Regions from separate parts of the Homo sapiens genome. Here region 2 is linked to region 1. Evidence: promoter capture Hi-C in human tissues and cell types (Jung and others, 2019). All regions are on one chromosome and are shown on one strand. The core of a region is centred on a gene start or on the middle of the fragment in contact, and the rest is flanking DNA. Distances in the headings are between cores, read along the strand shown.

Region 1 (5,018 bases), core at 957-3,456:
TAAAAATACAAAAATTAGCTGGGTGTGGTTGGCAGGTGCCTGTAATCCCAGCTACTCGGGAGGCTGATGCAGGAGAATCACTTGAAACCAGGAGGGGCAGGTTGCAGTGAGCTGAGATCATGCCACTGCACTTCAGCCTGGGCATCAGAGAGAGACCCTGTCTCAAACAAAAACAAACAAGCAAACAAAAATTCAAGGAAGTTCTGAATCTCAGTTATTGTCCTGAAGCTTGGTACCTAACTGGATGTTTCCAGTGGAGTAGAAACACATGGTCTTGGCCGGGCGCGGTGGCTCACGCCTGTAATCCCAGCACTTTGGGAGATCGAGGCGGGCGGATCACGAGGTCAGGAGATCGAGACCATCCTGGCTAACACGATGAAACCCCATCTCTACTAAAAATATAAAAAATTAGTCGGGCATGGTGGCACGCGCCTGTAGTGCCAGCTACTCAGGAGACTGAGGCAGGAGAATCGCTTGAACCCGGGAGGCAGAGGTTGCAGTGAGCCAAGATCACGCCACTGCACTCCAGCCCGGGCAACAGAGTGAGACTCCATCTCAAAAAATAAATAAATAAATAAATAAATAAATAAGCAAATAAATAATATGGCCTTTTCTGTTGTTATAAATTTTAAATCTACCAGCGATGTCAACACATTAGGGTAATGCAAAAACAAGTTAAATCCTACATCAAATGACATCTTGATTGACCAGCAATAAAATAAAGCCTGTCTACAAAAAAAAAGAAAATCTCACCAAGTTTATCATGACGGCAGGTGACCTAGACAGCTGCTTTGTAATATGCTGAAGTAGGCAGCTATGAGTAGCTGGGAAGCATACACAATACAAGGCCACCCTGAAGCAAAGGTTAGGATGATGTCATTAAAATGTTGAATTTTGAGAGGCCGAGGCGGACGGATCACGAGGTCAGGAGATCGAGACCATCCTGGCTAACGTGGTGAAACCCCGTCTCTACTAAAAAATACAAAAAAAAAAAAAAAAAAAAAATTAGCTGGGCGTGGTGGCGGGCGCCTGTAGTCCCAGCTACTCGGGAGGCTGAGGCAGGAGAATGGCGTGAACCCAGGAGGCGGAGCTTGCAGTGAGCCGAGATCACACCACTGCACTCCAGCCTGGGCGACAGAGCGAGACTCCATCTCGGGGGGAAAAAAAGTTGAATTTTGAGAAAGAGCAGCAGCAGGCAAACCCAACTGACCTACAGTAATCAAAGAAGCAGAAATGGATCATCCCTTTTGGAATTAAGATCTTGTGCAAATTACAAAGGAAAGAGACACAACTGCAAACAACAAAAGACTCTACCCCCACTTCAGCATCAAACCAGAGGGCAATCTGTCTATGCTGTGGAAAAGGGCTTCTGATCCTGCACTGATCTGGATGACACCCGCACATTCAGTGTTTCTAGCCTATCATCGTTAAAAAAGAAATACTCATATACTTACATTAAAAAGTTCATGTAGAAAACTTAAATTTCCATATTTAAAGCTTAGATCTCTTCCACACGACTCATCCAGGATAAACTTATGGTTTAATATTCTACATGTTTAATTATACCATGTTCAACTCAGTTGGGTTGCCAGCCCTCCACGTGGCTTAAGGTTAAGTACATTTTTTGAAGGCTTCTTGTTTTTGTCTTCTCAGTGTGCTATTTATGCTGCTAATTATAAGGTTTTCAAGCATTTTTCCCTCTTTGGAATTTTAATTTACTGTAAATGCTTGCCCCTTAGAACATTTCCTAGTGTCATTTTATTTTTGACCGTTTTGAATACAAAATCCTTGATAAAGACATCCAAAAAGAGGGAGAATGGGGAACAGGGACATACTGGGGGGCTTCTGAATTGTCCTCTGAAGTTTTGTCATCTAGATGCTGAGGGTGGTCTCTTTGTTAAAAATTTAACCATCCAGACCTTAAGGCCACACAATTAATATTCCCTCTGGAATTGTAGGGCCTCTGTTTGAAAGAGTTGTCCAGTTTTCAGGCCACATTAGGTAATTTCCCGCCCAGGAGCGTGGCTTGGAAAGAATGTCGGTGTTTTCCTTCAGGTATAGGTGCCTGGGGGTCAGGAGGGGAGGGAAAGGCGAGGGGTGGAGTGGGAGGCGGGTGATCGACAGGGATAGAAACTGTGTCTCCTCCTCCCTCTGAATGCGAAATAGCCAATGAGGTGGCTAGGCCGGGCCGGCCCGGCCGCCACTGCCATATAGTATGCAGCAACCGGAGGAGTCACGTTGGGGGAACGGCAGAAAGCAGCTATCCGTTTACACTACTTTGCTCTAACAGCTATCTTAATGGTGACTGCGTGGCCGGGGGGAAACCTGATCGGCCAGATACAGCCGAAACCAGGAGGGAGGGAGTGGGCTTTCCGGAGGGGGAGAGGAGGGAGGGAGACGAAGGAGGAGGAGTAAGAGAGGAGGAAAGAAAGAGGAAAAGAGTGCGAGGGAGTGAGGGAGGGAGGAAAATAAACAACAAAAAATGTCCTCTTCCTCCCCCACCGGGCAGATCGCAAGTGCGGCGGACATCAAGCAAGAGAATGGGATGGAAAGCGCCTCGGAAGGGCAGGAGGCGCACCGAGAAGTGGCGGGGGGCGCGGCGGTAGGGCTGAGCCCCCCGGCTCCAGCCCCTTTTCCCCTGGAGCCGGGGGACGCCGCGACCGCTGCCGCCAGGGTGAGCGGAGAGGAAGGGGCAGTGGCGGCGGCGGCGGCCGGAGCGGCGGCGGATCAGGTACAACTCCACTCGGAACTTCTGGGCAGGCACCACCACGCCGCCGCCGCCGCCGCGCAGACCCCGCTGGCCTTCTCGCCCGACCACGTCGCCTGCGTGTGCGAGGCACTGCAGCAGGGGGGCAACCTGGACCGCCTGGCCCGGTTCCTGTGGTCCCTGCCCCAGAGCGACCTGCTACGTGGCAACGAGAGCCTGCTGAAGGCGCGGGCGCTCGTGGCCTTCCACCAGGGCATCTACCCCGAGCTCTACAGCATCCTCGAGAGCCACAGCTTCGAGTCGGCCAACCACCCGCTGCTGCAGCAGCTCTGGTACAAGGCGCGCTACACCGAGGCCGAGCGAGCCCGCGGCCGGCCGCTGGGAGCCGTAGACAAGTACCGGCTGCGCAGGAAATTCCCCCTGCCCCGCACCATCTGGGACGGCGAGGAGACGGTGTATTGTTTCAAGGAGAAGTCGCGCAACGCGCTCAAGGAGCTCTACAAGCAGAATCGCTACCCTTCGCCCGCCGAGAAGCGGCACCTGGCCAAGATCACCGGCCTCTCCCTCACCCAGGTCAGCAACTGGTTCAAGAACCGCCGGCAGCGCGACAGGAACCCCTCCGAGACCCAGTCCAAAAGGTGAGCGCCAACTTTCCTCCTCCTCCCCCTTCCTCTCCCCCACCCCCTTCCCGGCTTTCTTTTCCTCCAAGTGCTCGCAAACATGGCGCTTACCTTCCCCACCAGCCTGGTCCGGCTGCCCACCTCTCCCCGCCCCCTACCTCGCTCCCCGGCCGGCAGAGGTAGGGGGCGGCGGAGGCGGGGGGCGGGGGAACCTCCCTCCTTACCCTCCCCCTCTCCCCCCAGAAGTTTCTGGTCGCCCGCCTAGGTCTCAGTCCCCGCCCCCACCTCGGCTGGTCACTGCTGCCCAGCTTCCCACCCCCATCCCGCTGGCTTTGAAGTTGCCACCCTCTCCCCGTTTCTGGAGGGGCTAACGAAGCAAATGTGGACACCGGCACCGTAGCTCTCCCTGCCGCCCGAGGCCCGCAGAGACTGCCGGCGCCGGCCGGGGTCTGCACCTCCGCGAGGTCACACCGGGCCTGGCGCGCGCGCACGCTCCCGGATCCCCAGGGTTCAGCCGCCCCCCGGGCCTGCGCTGGAGGTCGCGGTGGCTGCTCTGGTGAAGGGAAGAGAGTGTTGTGGGACTGGCGGCGCAGAAGGGGTCTCGGAACGTCGAGGTTTCATATGACAGAGTTAATCATTCACCCTGCCCCTATGGTTCCCTTAGCGGCCGCGGCAACGTGGGGTGCTGGTGCAGCTCGGCTCTGTCATGTTTTGAAACCTGATTCTGAACTCCTTAGGATCGGGTTTCAGCGCAGCCGGGGTAGCAGGGCTGAAGGGCTGCTTCCTCCCTCGGCCCCCGAACGCTGCTTGGCTCCCTCCTGGTACGGTAGTTATGGGTGGGGGGCAGGCCGGCTTACGGCGGGCGGCAGCAAAGGAGTGGGGGCGCTCCCACCCCACTGGGTTTGAGCTTTTTGCCTGGCAGACTGCTTTCCCCCTCTGGTAAAAAAAATACCGGATTTTCCACCTCTTTTGTGCGTCCTCCCGAGTCAGACACTTGGTGTGTGCGTCTGTGTGTTTTGTTGGACGAAACAAAGTAAGGAGAAGGTCGCCTAAAGACCTGGTGTCTCCAGCCCCGCGGGGATAGGAGAGAAAGAATCCAAAAGCAGCTCGAAGGTTCTTCTCGGGGAAGCAAACTGGGAGCCGGGGATCCAGCCCGCCTGCGCCAGGTGAAGGTGATCACCAGCGCATTCCAGAGCCGGTCTCAGCCCGCCCTTGCCGCTTCTGGGCCCCTGTGGGGGTCCGACGGCTCGGGCTCCGGCGTTCCTCGCCCAAGGCTGGGAGGGAGGCTTGGTGCCCTATCCGGCCCTCGCGGTAACCAAAACAAAAGGTGCACCGGGATGTGCGTGCGCCTTCCGCAGATATGCGGAGAGGTCCAGAGAAGGCGCTTTGGTTACGCCGAGCCACCTGCCCTGCGCCCACTAGAGGCCGCGGATCCCGCGCTCGGAAACCAACGGAATCCGCAGGGCCGGGGCAGAGGGTGGCAAGGGGGCACCGCGAGCAGGCCAGCTGCTCCGCCGCCTCCGCTCGCGAGCCGGGCACGCTCCCTGGGACTCCCCCACGCTCCACTGCTGGCTTCTTCGTCCCCCCCGCCCCACCCCATAAACTCCACACCCACCCCGCCGCCGGCCCAGTTGCCTGGTTTAGGCCCCTCTCCGGATCTACCTCCCACCCGCACCCCCGGTGAGTCACCC
Region 2 (5,018 bases), core at 1,598-4,097, 160 kb before region 1:
AAAATACATCCAAATAGGAAATCAAGAAGTAAAATTATGCCTCTCTGCATATGACATGATCCTATATGTACAAAATCATAAAGATTAGACCAAAAAGTTAGAATTAGAAAATGAATTCAATAAAGTAGCAAGATAGAAAACAGACATGCAAAAATCAGCTATATTTCTTTATACTAATAGTGAAGTATCTGAAAAAAAAATCAAAACATTACATTAGCTTTTTTGTAATCAAAACAGACATGCAAAAATCAGCTATATTTCTTTATACTAATATTGATATATCTGAAAAAAATCAAAACATTACATTAGCCTTTAATGTAATGTAATCAAAACATTACATTAGCCTTTTTCAAAGGCTAATCAAAAGATTAATCAAAAAGATTAAGATACTTAAGAACAAATTTAACAAAGGAGGTCAAAGCTGTACACACTGAAAAATATGAAACACTGAAGACAACATAAATAAACGGCAACAAATCCCATGTCCGTAAGAATAGAGGAATATTGTTAAAATGTCCATACTACCAAAAGCAGTATACAGATTCAACAAAATCCCTATCAACATTCTCATGGCATTTTCAATACAAACAGAAAAAAATTATAAAGTTCACATGAAACCACAAAATACCCACAAAAAACAAAACAGCCTTGAAAAGGAAGAACAAAGTTGGAAACACCAAATTTGCTGATATCAGATAATATTACAAAGCTATAGTATGGTATTGACACAAAAACAAACATATACACATTGGAACAGAATAGGGAGCCCAGAAATAAACCCAAACATCTGCAGTCAACTAATTTTTGATAAGGGCATGAAAACATACAATGGAAAAAGGCTAATATTTTTAGTCAATGGCACTGAGAGAACTATACACATACAAGTGAATGAAACTGGCCCTTATCATACACCATATTAAAAAACATCAACTCAAAATGGACTAAAGACTTAAAAATAAAACCTGAAACCATAAAATTCTTAAGAGAAAACATAGTGAGAAAGATCCTTGATGTTAACTTTGGCAATGGTTTTCTGGATAAGACACCAAATACGCAACAAAACTGAAAATAAACAAATAGAGCTACATCAAACTAAAAAGCTCTAGACAACAAAGGAAATAAACAACAAAATGAAAAACCAACCTACACATTGGGAAAATATATTTGCAAACTATACAAACTATACATCCAATAAAGGGTTAATACCCAAATTATATAAAGAACTTGAATAGCTCAAAGGCAAACAAAACCAAATAACTCAACTTAAAAATGGGCAAAGGACCTGAATAGTCATTTCCCCAAAGATAACATATGAATGGCCAAAAGGTGTATGAAAAGCTGCTCAACATCACTAATCATCAAGAAAATACAAACAAAAACCAGAGTCTCTTAATAGCAGAATTGATTAAGCAGAAGAGTGAACTTGAATATAAGCTATTTGAAAATACAGTCAAAGAAAACAAAACAAAATTAACAATAAAAAACAATGAAGCATGCCTAAAAGATCTAGAAAATAGCCTCAAAAGTGCAAATCTAAGAGTTATGGGGCCTAAATAGGAGACAGAGAGAGAGATGAGGGTAGAACGTTTATTCATAAGGAGAATAACAGAACATTTCCCAAATCTAGAGAAATATATCAATATTCAACTATTCAAGTACAAGAAGGTTACAGAACACCAAGCAGATTCAACTCAAAAAAGAATACCTCAAAGCATTTAACACTCAAACTCCCAAAGGTCAAGGATAAAGAATTCTACAAGCAGAAAGACAAAATATACAAATAACATAGAATGGAGGTCCAATATGTCTGGCAGCGAACTCTTCAGTGGAAACCTTATAGGCCAGAAGAGACTGGCATGAAGGAAAAAGCTTTTGCCCTAGAATAGTATATCCGGTGAAAATGTTCTGCAAACATGAAGGAGAAACAAATAAAGACTTTCCCGGACAAACAAAAGCTGAAGGTTTTTATCAACACCAGACCTGTCTTACAAGAAATGCTAAAGGGGGTTCTTCAATTAGAAAGAAAAGAACATTAATGAGCAATATGAAGTCACCTGAAGGTACAAAATTCACTGGTAATGGTAAGTACACAGAAAAACACAGAATATTCCCACACTGTAATCATGGTAGATAAACTACTCTTAAGTAGGAAAACTAAAAGATAAATCAATTAAACATAATAACTACAACTTTTCAAGACGTAGTACAATAAGATATAAATAGAACAACAAAAAGTTAAAAAGCAAGGGGACAAAGTTAAAGTGTAGAGTTTTTACTAGTTTTGATTTTGCTTATTTGTTTGTTTGTTTGTTTATGCTATCAACCTTAAGTTGTCATCAGCTTAAAATAATGGGTTATAAGATAGTGTTTGCAAGCCTCAACAAAATACTAGCAAGCTGAATTCAACAACATGTTAAAAAGATCATTCACTCATCATGACCACATGTGATTTATCCCAGGAATACAAGGATGGTTCAACATATGCAAATCAATCAATATGATATATCATATCAACAGAGTGAGGACCAAACCATATGATCACTTCAACTGATGCTGAGTAAGCATTTAATAAAATTCAACATTCTTTCATGGTAAAAACCCTCAAAAACCTGGGTATAAAAGGAATTTACCTCAACATAATGAAAGCCATATATAACAGACCTGCAGCTAGTATACTGAATGGGGGAAAACTGAAAGTCTTTCTTCTAAGATCTGGAATACAGCAAGAATGCCCACTATCACCACTGCTATTCAACACAGAACTGGCAGTCCTAGCTAGAGCAATCAGACAGGAGAAAGAAATAAAGGACATCCAAAGCAGAAAGGAGTAAGTCAAATTATTTTTGTTTACAGATGATATGATCTTATATTTGGAAAAACCTAAAGACTTCACAAAAAAACTATTAGAACTGATAAACAAATTGAGTAAAGTTGCAGAATACAAAATCAGCACACAAAAATCAGCAGCATTTCTATATGCCAAGAGTGAACAATCTAAAAAAGAAATCAAGAAAGTAATCCCATTTACAATAGCTAGAATAAAATACCTAGGAATTAACCAAATAAGTGAAAGATCTCTACTATGAAAACTATAAAATACTGACGCAAAAAATTGAAGAGGACACACACACACAAAAGATATTCCATGTTCATGGATTGGAAGAATCAATAATGTTAAAATGGCCATAGTACCCAAAGCAATCTACAGATTAAATGCAATCTCTATCAAAATACCAATGACATTCTTCACAGAAATTAAAAAATTCCTAAAATTTATATGGAATCACAAAAGACCCAGAATAGCCAAAGCTATCTTTAAAGAAACTTTAAAGATATAAAACTTCAGGAATTATATTACCTGACTTCAAATACTACAGAGCTATAGTAACTAAAATAGCATGGTACTGGCATAAAAATGGACACAGAGACCAATGGAACAAAATAGAGAATCTCAAAACAAATCCATGCATCTACAGTGAACTCATTTTTGACAAAAGTGCCAAGACCATACATTTGGGAAAAGAAAATCTCTTCAAAATATGGTACTGGGAAAACTGGATATCCATATGCATAAGAATGAAACTAGACCCCTAACTCTCACCACATACAAAAATCAAATCAGGATGAAACACTTAAATCTAAGACCTCAAACTATTTAACCTACTAAAATTAAACATTGGGGAAACGCTCCAGGATATTGGAGTGGGCAAAGATTTTTGAGGAACACCCCCACAAGCACAGGCAACTAAAGCAAAAATAGGTAAGTAGGACCACATCAAGTTAAAAAGCTTCTGCAAAGCGAAGAAATCGATGAACAAAGAGACAACCTATAGAATGGGAGAAAATATTTTCAAACTACCCATCTGACAAGGCATTATTAACCAGAATATGTAAGGAACTCAAACAACTCAACAGGAAAAAATGTAATAATCCAACTTAAAAATGGGCAAAAGATTTGAACATACATTTCTCAAAGGAAGATATACAAATGGCAAACAGTCATATGTAAAAATGCTCAACATCACCAGTAATCATCAGAGAAATGCAAATCAAAACTACAATGAGATAGAATCTCATCCCAGTTTAAATGGCTTTTATCCAAAGACAAGCAGTAACGAGTACTGGAGAGGATGTGGAAAAAAGAAAATCTTGTACACTGTTGGTGGATATGTAAATTAGTACAACCAGTATGGAGAACAGTTTCGAGGTTTGTCAAAAAACAAAAATAGAGCTACTATATGATCCAGCAATCCCACTGCTGGGTATATACCCAAAAGAAAGGGAATTAGTATTTCAAAATGACATCTGCACTCCCATGTTTGTTACAGGACTGTTCACAATAGCCAAGATTTGGAAGCAATCTACATGTCCATCAACAGATGACTGAATAAAGAAAATGTGGTACATATACACAGTGGAGTATTATTCAGCCATAAAAAAGGTATGCGATCCTGTCATTTGAAACAACATACATGGAACTGGTGGTCATTATGTTAAGTGAAATAAGCCAGGCACAGAAAGACAAACTTAGCATGTTCCCACTTATTTGTGGAAGCTAAAAATTGAACTGATAGGGAGTAGAAGGAAGGTCACCAGAGGTTGTGAAGGGTAGTGAGGAGGTGGGAGAGGATGTGGGGATGGTTAATGGGTAGAAAAAAAAATAGTTAGAATGAATAGGAACCAGTTTTTGGTTTTGTTTTGTTTGTTTTTGTTTTTGTCACCCAGGCTAGAGTGCAGTGGCACAATCTTGGCTCACTGCAACCTCTGCCTCCCAGGTTCAAGTGATTCTCCTGCCTCAGCCTCCCAAGTAGCTGTGATTAAAGGTGCATACCACCATACCCAGCTATTATTTTGTATTTTTAGTAGAGTCGGGGTTTCATCATGTTGGCCAGGCTTGCCTCAAACTCCTGACCTCAAGTGATCTGCCCACCTCAGCCTCCCAAAGAGCTGGGATTACAGGCATGAGCCACTGCGCCTGGCCAAGAACTAGTATTTGATAGAACAACAGGGTGACTATA

Evidence for each region. The method cuts DNA at HindIII sites, captures the fragments that hold promoters and counts their contacts. A contact is called where the count stands out against the background at its distance.
Region 2: a fragment that was not itself captured here is called in contact with the fragment with the promoter of SIX4 in region 1 in 1 of the 25 tissues and cell types used here (dorsolateral prefrontal cortex).

Annotation. Positions count from the first base shown.
Region 1 is chr14:60,721,539-60,726,556 of GRCh38, reverse strand. SIX4 (SIX homeobox 4) reads left to right here and starts at 2,206. Exons shown (of 3, transcript NM_017420.5): 1 at 2,206-3,345. The coding sequence starts at 2,483. RefSeq lists silencers at 2,724-2,793, 4,072-4,141. The HindIII fragment of the contact is 7,845 bases long and covers 864-5,018 here.
Region 2 is chr14:60,881,841-60,886,858 of GRCh38, reverse strand. The region is part of intron 7 of MNAT1 (MNAT1 component of CDK activating kinase); the gene reads right to left. Among named protein-coding and RNA genes, the nearest start is that of TRMT5, 97 kb to the left of the region's middle. The HindIII fragment of the contact is 5,206 bases long and covers 245-5,018 here.